Regions from separate parts of the Homo sapiens genome. Here all the other regions are linked to region 1. The links are contacts of gene promoters, found by promoter capture Hi-C in blood cells and fetal thymus (Javierre and others, 2016). All regions are on one chromosome and are shown on one strand. The core of a region is centred on a gene start or on the middle of the fragment in contact, and the rest is flanking DNA. Distances in the headings are between cores, read along the strand shown.

Region 1 (2,700 bases), core at 201-2,700:
CCACCCGCCGGGCTGAAGTGATTCTCCTGCCTCATCCTCCTGAGTAGCTGAGACTACAGGTGCATGCCACCATGCCTGGCTAATTTTTGATTTTTTAGTAGAGACAGGGTTTCACCATGTTGGCCAGGCTGGTCTTTAACTCCTGACCTCAAGTGATCTGCCCACCTTGGCCTCCCAAAGTGCTGGATTACAGGCATGACCCACCACATCCGGCCTTGAACATGGAAATTCTTTAAGGGAGCTTTAAGTTGCTCCTGTCTTGTCCAAAGAAGTGAGAAACAACCCCCACTTCTCTGAGATTCCCTCAAACTTTCTGATTTTTTAAACTTCCCTCTAAAGGGTTTCAGCCTGGAGGGGTGTATTAGTTTGCTAGGGCTGCCATAACAAAATGCCACAGACTAGGTGGCTTAAACAGCAGAAATTTATTTTCTCACATTTTTGAAGGTTGGAAGTCTAAGACCAAGGTGCCAGCAGGGTTGTTTTTCTCTGAACTTCTCTCCTTGGCTTGCAGATGGCAACCTTCTTGCTGCTTTATTGTGACATGATAGTCCCTCTGTATGCACACATCCTTGGTGTCTTTTCCTCTTCTTAAAAGGATACGAGTCATATTGGATTAGACCCACTGTAACTTAAGCACTTTAAAGACCTTGTCTCCAAATACAGTTACATTCTGAGATCCTGGAGGCTGGGACTTCAACATGTGAATTTGGGGGAAACACAGTTCATCTTAGAACAAGGGAGATCCACCACACATACACACACACACACACACACACACACACACAGACACCCTTTTATTTCCTCTTTTATCAGAAAAGTCCTTATTTCTCTTTCCTCAGTACAGGGCATGTCTCTTAACTTTGATTATTATTCTCTCTCTCTTTGTCTTTTAAAGAGATGGGGTCTTACTACATTGCCCAGGCTAGAATGCAGTAGCTATTCATAGGTGTGATCATAGCACACCACAGCCAGGAACTCCTGGTCTCAAGTGAAGGTCCTCCTGTTTAAGCCTTCTGAGTAGCTGAAACTACAGGTGTGCACCACTGTGCTTGGCTCCTAAACTTGGATTCTTGCAAACTGTAGCTCATACTAAAGCTATGTGGTCCAGCTGTGGCACGTCAAGCTCTTGATAAATAAAAGGAGCTGTTAGAATGTAGAAAAAGTCCTCAAAATTGTCGTTTTATTACACACATACACACACATACACACACATCAGTTTTGAGGTTTGAAGCTGAATAGTAAATGACCTTTTTTCCCTTTAACAACCATAATTTTCCTTGAGGCAGCCTATGCCTTTAGTTGAATGGGGAAAAGGTCATATGTCAGAAAGGAGGATGAGAAGCGTATTACAAAAAAATGCTTTTTGGGGGAAAATTTTGGAATATAATAGTAGTCTCTCTTATTCTTGAGAGGTTTGAGTAAATTGATTAAAATTCTTAAAACAGTGCCTACTACATTGTTATTCTACAGCTACTTCCTTATTTCTTTTCTGCCTTTTTTCCAGGATGGGACTCTGTCTGTGTTCCTGCCCAAGATCTGGTCCCAGCCCTAGCCTACCTGCCTCACCCTTTGCTCCTGAATGTCTGACTGTTTTTGTTATTTGCTTGTTTTCAGTTTCCTGGTTCATTTCCAGTTAGGCTTAGTTGGCTCCTCCCATAGGTGTCTTAGCTGACTCCCTAGAGCTTGCCTGTTCTTCTGTAATTTGAGTATCAACCTTCTACAGTTCTAATATGCTGCACATGATAATTCCTGCCTTTGCCTCTGCCTCACCAGCCATAATCTGGCCAACTTTTAACTGTAATTTCTACCTCAAATTATTCATAAACCAATCAAAACTGATAACTCTTCCAAACGATATCCCTTTCCTACCTTCTTGGTTCCTATAAATGATGCCCATGCAACTGTTATTTAAGACTGAGGTTAGAAATTTGGTGTTGTCTTTGATTCCTTCAGTGTATCATATTGAGTGCTTCAACATGCAGAGGAGTTACTTGATCGAATTAAAAAAAACGTCATTCTGACTGCAGAATAGAGAACTTGGCAGATCCCTAACTAGTCCCCTTTCCTTGGTCTCCATTTCTTTTTGTCAGTTCTCCTGTGAAGCCAGCCTGAACTTCCTCAAACCTTATTTTCAGAGTGGCTGTATGACTCACTGACTACATCAGGTTAGAATTCTGCTGTCTCATCTTTAAGGTCTTCCATAGAATGGCTCTAGCTACCTTTGTCTCCCACTATCTCCTGACCCAAATTGTATTTCAGGCTGATTGTTTTGCTTACTTTTGCCTTCCCACCTGCCTTTCTGTGTCATGTTAATTCCTGTTTCTGTGCCTTTGTTCCTGCTGTTTGACTCTTAGTTTCTTGCCTCTTTTCTGTATATTTATTATACCAATTTTTTTTTGTTTTTTTTTTTTTAATTGAGGCAGAGTCTTGCTCTGTCGCCCAGGCTGGAGTGCAGTGGTGTGATCTTGGCTCACTGCAAGCTCCGCCTCCCGGGTTCACACCATTCTCCTGCCTCAGCCTCCTGAGTAGCTAGGACTACAGGCACCCGCCACCAGGCCCAGCTAAATTTTTTGTATTTTGAGTAGAGAAGGGGTTTCACCATGTTAGTCAGGATGGTCTCCATCTTGATCTCCTGACCTCATGATCCACCCGCCTTGGCCTCCCAAAGTGTTGGGATTACAGGTGTGAGCCACCGCACCT
Region 2 (2,776 bases), core at 217-2,716, 1.1 Mb after region 1:
GAGCTGAATAGAAGGAACTCGATGAGGTACAGGCTTCTGATAAAATAACTTGATAGGCATGTAATTCACACCTTTAGGGGTCGGTAAAAACGATGGCTTTTTTTTTATTTCAAAAAATGCAAAGCTGTTATTTAAAAGTCCCCAAACCAAAAAGAACTGAAGCCAATGGGATTAAGAGGAAAAAAGAAAACAGGAAGTAATGGGTGACTTATCCATTTCAAGACCTCCTCCTGCTATTTTCTGATTCCTAAATTGTTCCAGAATCGATTTAAGCAGACAAGTACAGCTGAGACCAGGTAAGTTACTGTCAAGTCAAGAAGTCTGTCATGTCTGCCATGAAGTTTGGACAGAATGAGATCAGGAACTGGCATGGGTCTTAAGATCCCAGATCTGACAGTACTTCCCATTGATAAGATATTACTACACAGTCTGTAATTGATTATTTGCATAGATAGAAAAAAAAAACTTCCCAGCAACTTAAGCACTCTAAAATATCAGTTTTGTCAACTCACAAATTTGGGTTGCAGTGAAAGTGGGGAAAATAGAGGTAGGAAGATGTAAGTCAAATAAAAACAAGGTATATCTTCTTGTCTTTGAGTATCTGTAGTTCTTTTTTAACGGCAATTAAGAGGGATAGAAAATGTATTCCAGCTGATAAAAAGGAATTCCCTGTGCGAAAGGGAAAGGCAGAAAGCAGCTGGAAAAAAAAAATAGCAGGCAGTTGTCTTAATAACGTAGATAGGTATCGCCTCTAATACAGGACTTAGTACTGTTGTGCCCCAATTAGACAGTAAGCATTGATCGCATGAACTTTAGTGATTAACTTGTTGCCAAAGAATATTCAAAAGAATATCAGAAATCAGAACAAATGTACTGTTGGTGTGCTACAAATCCATCAGGTAGCCTAGTTTTCCTTCTTTCCTCTCTACAAGGGATTTTAAGCGCTACCGTGTGCTTCCCTCCCACTATGCTGGTACTTTCCCATAGGAAGGGTTGTGCCTGGACCTCCCAGATTGGAACCCCGATTACCGAAGGTCCCAAGGCTGTATTCTCAGTTACGCCAAGTCACCTGAGACATTTGCACCAGAGCACCCAAAATTCTGTGCCCATGCGGATAGTTAGAGTTTCTTCACAAAATAGCAAAGTCTCTAGGTTGCTATTCCAACGGCGGTAGTACTGATGCTCCAGTTCGAAGGCCAGGAAAACAGAATGTAAAGCCGGTGACTTCCAAGATATATGTAACCACCAAAGTACATGCTTAATGACCTAGTGAAGTGAGCTTAAGCCGCCTCCCAGACACCTGTAACGAAGACCATCTCGGGAAAGCTCTGGGTTAGGCAACTCGATTTCACGAAAGCGGACACCAACGCTCTACCCAGAGGCCCGAGCGTCGTCTAACGTTTCCATTGGCCCTTTCGGCCTTCACTCAGCTGCTAGCAACGCAGTCTGCCCTAGCGCATGCGCGCAATCTGCTTCCGGCCTGCGAGCTCGGTGTTCCGCTTTTTGTGGGCCGGGTGGGTTTCCTAATCTGGTTTCGTCTGCCTGGTTCATCTGTGTGCGATGGCTCCGGACTCGGATCCCTTCCCTGAAGGGCCGCTCTTAAAGCTGCTACCCTTAGACGCTAGAGACCGGGGCACCCAGCGCTGCCGCCTGGGCCCGGCCGCCCTCCACGCCCTGGGCGCGCGCTTGGGCTCGGCAGTGAAGATCTCGCTACCCGACGGCGGCTCCTGCCTCTGCACTGCCTGGCCTCGGCGGGACGGAGCGGACGGCTTTGTGCAGCTGGACCCGCTGTGCGCGAGCCCCGGGGCGGCGGTCGGGGCGTCGAGATCCCGGAGGAGTCTCAGCCTGAATCGCCTCCTCCTAGTGCCCTGTCCGCCCCTGCGGCGCGTCGCCGTGTGGCCGGTGTTGCGAGAGCGGGCAGGCGCGCCCGGTGCCCGGAATACAGCCGCGGTGCTGGAGGCGGCACAGGAGCTGCTGAGAAACCGACCGATCTCCCTGGGCCACGTGGTGGTCGCTCCGCCAGGCGCTCCTGGCCTGGTGGCTGCCTTGCACATCGTCGGCGGGACGCCCAGTCCCGATCCCGCTGGGCTGGTCACCCCTCGTACCCGCGTCAGCCTTGGCGGGGAGCCTCCGTCGGAAGCCCAGCCGCAGCCCGAGGTGCCCCTGGGAGGTCTTTCGGAGGCGGCCGACTCGCTGCGGGAGCTCCTCCGCCTCCCGCTCCGCTACCCGCGCGCCCTGACCGCGCTGGGCTTAGCGGTGCCTCGCGGGGTGCTCCTGGCGGGGCCCCCCGGAGTGGGCAAGACCCAGCTGGTGCGGGCCGTGGCGCGCGAGGCGGGCGCGGAGCTGCTGGCAGTCAGCGCCCCGGCGCTGCAGGGTTCCCGGCCTGGGGAGACCGAGGAGAACGTGCGGCGGGTCTTCCAGCGCGCCCGGGAACTGGCCAGCCGCGGACCCAGCCTCCTCTTCCTGGACGAGATGGACGCCTTGTGTCCCCAGCGGGGCAGTCGAGCACCCGAGAGCCGCGTAGTGGCCCAGGTGTTGACGCTGCTGGACGGCGCCAGTGGGGACCGCGAGGTCGTGGTTGTGGGAGCCACTAACCGGCCGGACGCTCTAGACCCAGCGCTGCGTAGGCCCGGGAGATTTGACCGAGAGGTGAATGGGCTTGGCGGGTTTGCCCACTGTCGGTGGAACCTCGGCCGCTTCTGGCGCCATTTGGCTGCCCCGGAGGCGTTTGCCTCTTAGGTTTGAGCATCGGTGAGGTTGGAGTTGGGGCTCTTTG
Region 3 (2,700 bases), core at 1-2,500, 1.3 Mb after region 1:
TACAGTCTGCGTTTGTATTGTATTGTTCATGATGATTTTGCCATAGATACAGTCAGTCTCTTTGATTAAAGATAGAAAGTATCAGTTGAAAACATTTAAAAAAATAATATTCAAGGCTGGGCATGGTGGCTCACGCCTGTAATCCCAGCACTTTGGGAGGCCCAGGAGGGCAGATCGCTTGAGGCCAGGAGTTTGAGACCAGCTTGGCCAACATGGTGAAACCTCATCTCTACTGAAACATACAAAAATTAGCCGGGCATGGTGGCACACACCTGTAGTCCCAGCTACTCAGGAGGCTGAGACACCAGAATTGGTTGAACCCATGAGGCAGATGTTGCAGTGAGCCGAGATTGCTCTACTCACTGCGCTCCAGCCTGGGCAACACAGTGAGACTCTGTTTCAAAAAACAACAACAACAACTATATATATATATATATATATATATATTCAAAATTCATAAAACCAAATAAGTGTAAAAGAAACTCAAACTTTCAAGGGTTTATTTTTGTTTGTTTTTTTGAAAGCTTCTAGCACTTGCACTTCTCAGGTTATGAGACTTTTGGGACACCCTGTATTTATTGTAAAAAGGGTTACTGAATCTGATATGGTGGAGAACCACTCACTGAGACTTTACATCAACCTGGAAAGAGCCGCCAACTGAAAATGTCCAGTCATGAATATGGGATGGGACACTGTGGAGGCCAGTGGCTGGAAGCCAGCTTACCCCTGCCTGCGCGTTTTGAAGGAAGGGCTCCAGCGCACACCAAAGCTGAACCTCGGTCACCTTCTCTGTGAAATGAGCGCGGGAATACCTGTGTTTCTGGGCAGCTGTGTGAACCCGGTGAGAAGCCCAGGGCACATAGGAGGACCCAGTGGGAACAGCCAGAGCCTCTCTGCACAGCGCCCCGCCTCCGCTTTTGCCTGCCCTGATTACAAAACGCTGTTGGCACCCAGGGGCGGAAGCGTCAGGTGGCCTCGGTGTCCTCCGCCTGTGCGCCCCAGCCTGCGGGGCCGCCCTTCAGGGCGCGCAAGGGGCGAGTCTGTCCAGCCGGCAGCACCCCAGGCCGGATGGACGCTTGTTCCTGGTTCTGTGCCCCGTGAGCGCTCAACGCCCTGGTGTGTTCACTGACCATGGTGCCTGGGCTGCGGCGCCGGGCGGGGCACGGCGGGACTTTTCGGGACCTTTCCTGGGGGGAGCCTCGCTTTCCCCGCCTCCAGCCTCCGCCCGGATGGCAGGCGGGCGGGGCCCCAGTCCAGGCCTTGAGACCCAGAAGGGAGCGAAGGTTTTTGCTGCGCCAACGCAGTGACCGAAGGCTCCGCTCACGCCCGGGTAAGAGGCATCCGCGGCCGATCTTTGGCCCTGGGCCAGCGGAGGGAGACTGGGCGGGGACAGCGACCACCACTGAGGCTGTTTGTTAGCTTAACTCGGTTTCCGCAGCTGGGACTCCGCAGACCCGGTGCGCCGCGCCCCAAACTTTGCTTCCTCAACTCCGGACACCTGCAGCTCTTGCTGCCCTTGTCTGGAACCCGGGTCTTGGGACTCTTGCTTCCTTCTCAGAGTGTCAGAGCCTCAGGGCCGCGGAGAGGCCAACCCGCGAGGGGTGCTTAAAAACCGAAGTATCCGTGGTCTTGGTGTGTGGACGTTTCTGGCGCCTTCCACCTGTTGACTGTCACTCGGCACCGTCCTGGAGCGGGAGTGGGTGCTCGGCGTCCGGGGGCCAGGGATTGACACAGTCATCCACCGACACTGCGCGTGGGACAGAGGGGGCGCTCGAGGGGTCGGCTGCAGCTGAAACCTGAAGGGGAGAGGATTTAGGGCACCTGCTGAACAGGAATTGGTGGAAAGGGAGAAGGGGTCTTCTGGTGGAATCTGGGCTCATTTCCTTTCCTCTTCATCTGTCTCTTTTATTTATCAAAATTCCAACCTGGCTTTTTGCTCAAAGACGCTGAACAGAGCCCCTGGCTTTGCCTGCGCTGCCCATTGCTATAATGCAGGGCTCTGTTCCATTTTTGTGCTGTGCACCCCTTTGGCATTTCTGGGAAGGCTAAAGACTCTCAGAACAATACTTTTTTTTGAGACAGAGTCTTGCTCTGTCGCCCAAGCTGGAGTGCAGTGGCGCGATCTCGGCTCACTGCCACCTCCACCTCCCGGGTTCAAGCGATTCTCCTGCCTCAGCCTGCCGAGTAACTGGGATTACAGGCGCAGCACACCTGGCTAATTTTAGTATTTGTAGTAGAGGCGGGTTTCACCATGTTGCCCAGCTGGTCTCGAACTCCTGGCCTCAAATGATCCGCACACTTCGGCCTTCCAAAGTGCTGGGATTACACGAGTGAGCCACCGCGCTGGACCAGAACAATGCTTTTTTAAAGGTATAAAACAAAAGGAAGAGTATTATAAAGGAAACCAATTGCAAAACACATGTCAAAACATTAAAAGAATTTATGATATGGTAATATATATGTCTTTAAAAAACGAATGCGTTATTTAATAACAAGGTTATTAAATAACAAGATCTAGCAGTGGATTAAATAGTTACCATAATTTTGAAGTAGTAAAGAACATAAACAATTATTTCAAGATATAGGTAATACTTGTAATATAAGAAAATATCTGTAATTTCTTTCTTCTTTTTTTTTTTTTTTTGAGACGGAGTCTCACTCTGTCACCAGGCTGGAGTGCAGTGGCGCGATCTCGGTTCA

The links. The method cuts DNA at HindIII sites, captures the fragments that hold promoters and counts their contacts. A CHiCAGO score of 5 or more calls a contact.
Region 2: the fragment with the promoter of AFG2B here is called in contact with a fragment that was not itself captured in region 1 in 1 of 17 cell types (neutrophils); the score reaches 8.7 in neutrophils.
Region 3: a contact is called between the fragment with the promoter of SQOR here and a fragment that was not itself captured in region 1, in 1 of 17 cell types (neutrophils). The highest score is 5.4, in neutrophils.

What each region holds. Positions count from the first base shown.
Region 1 is chr15:44,295,164-44,297,863 of GRCh38, forward strand. The region is part of intron 1 of GOLM2 (golgi membrane protein 2); the gene reads left to right. Among named protein-coding and RNA genes, the nearest start is that of GOLM2, 7.8 kb to the left of the region's middle. RefSeq lists a silencer at 888-1,182. The HindIII fragment of the contact is 6,274 bases long and covers 1-2,700 here.
Region 2 is chr15:45,400,870-45,403,645 of GRCh38, forward strand. It overlaps AFG2B (AAA ATPase AFG2B), which reads left to right and starts at 1,467. Exons shown (of 8, transcript NM_024063.3): 1 at 1,467-2,649. The coding sequence starts at 1,561. It also overlaps a transcript of GATM not described here. RefSeq lists enhancers at 920-969, 980-1,049, 1,440-1,599 and silencers at 1,680-1,759, 2,150-2,299. The HindIII fragment of the contact is 3,246 bases long and covers 1-2,776 here.
Region 3 is chr15:45,633,779-45,636,478 of GRCh38, forward strand. SQOR (sulfide quinone oxidoreductase) reads left to right here and starts at 1,251. Exons shown (of 10, transcript NM_021199.4): 1 at 1,251-1,330. RefSeq lists enhancers at 395-1,390, 1,853-1,942, 1,973-2,022 and a silencer at 1,203-1,372. The HindIII fragment of the contact is 3,121 bases long and covers 523-2,700 here.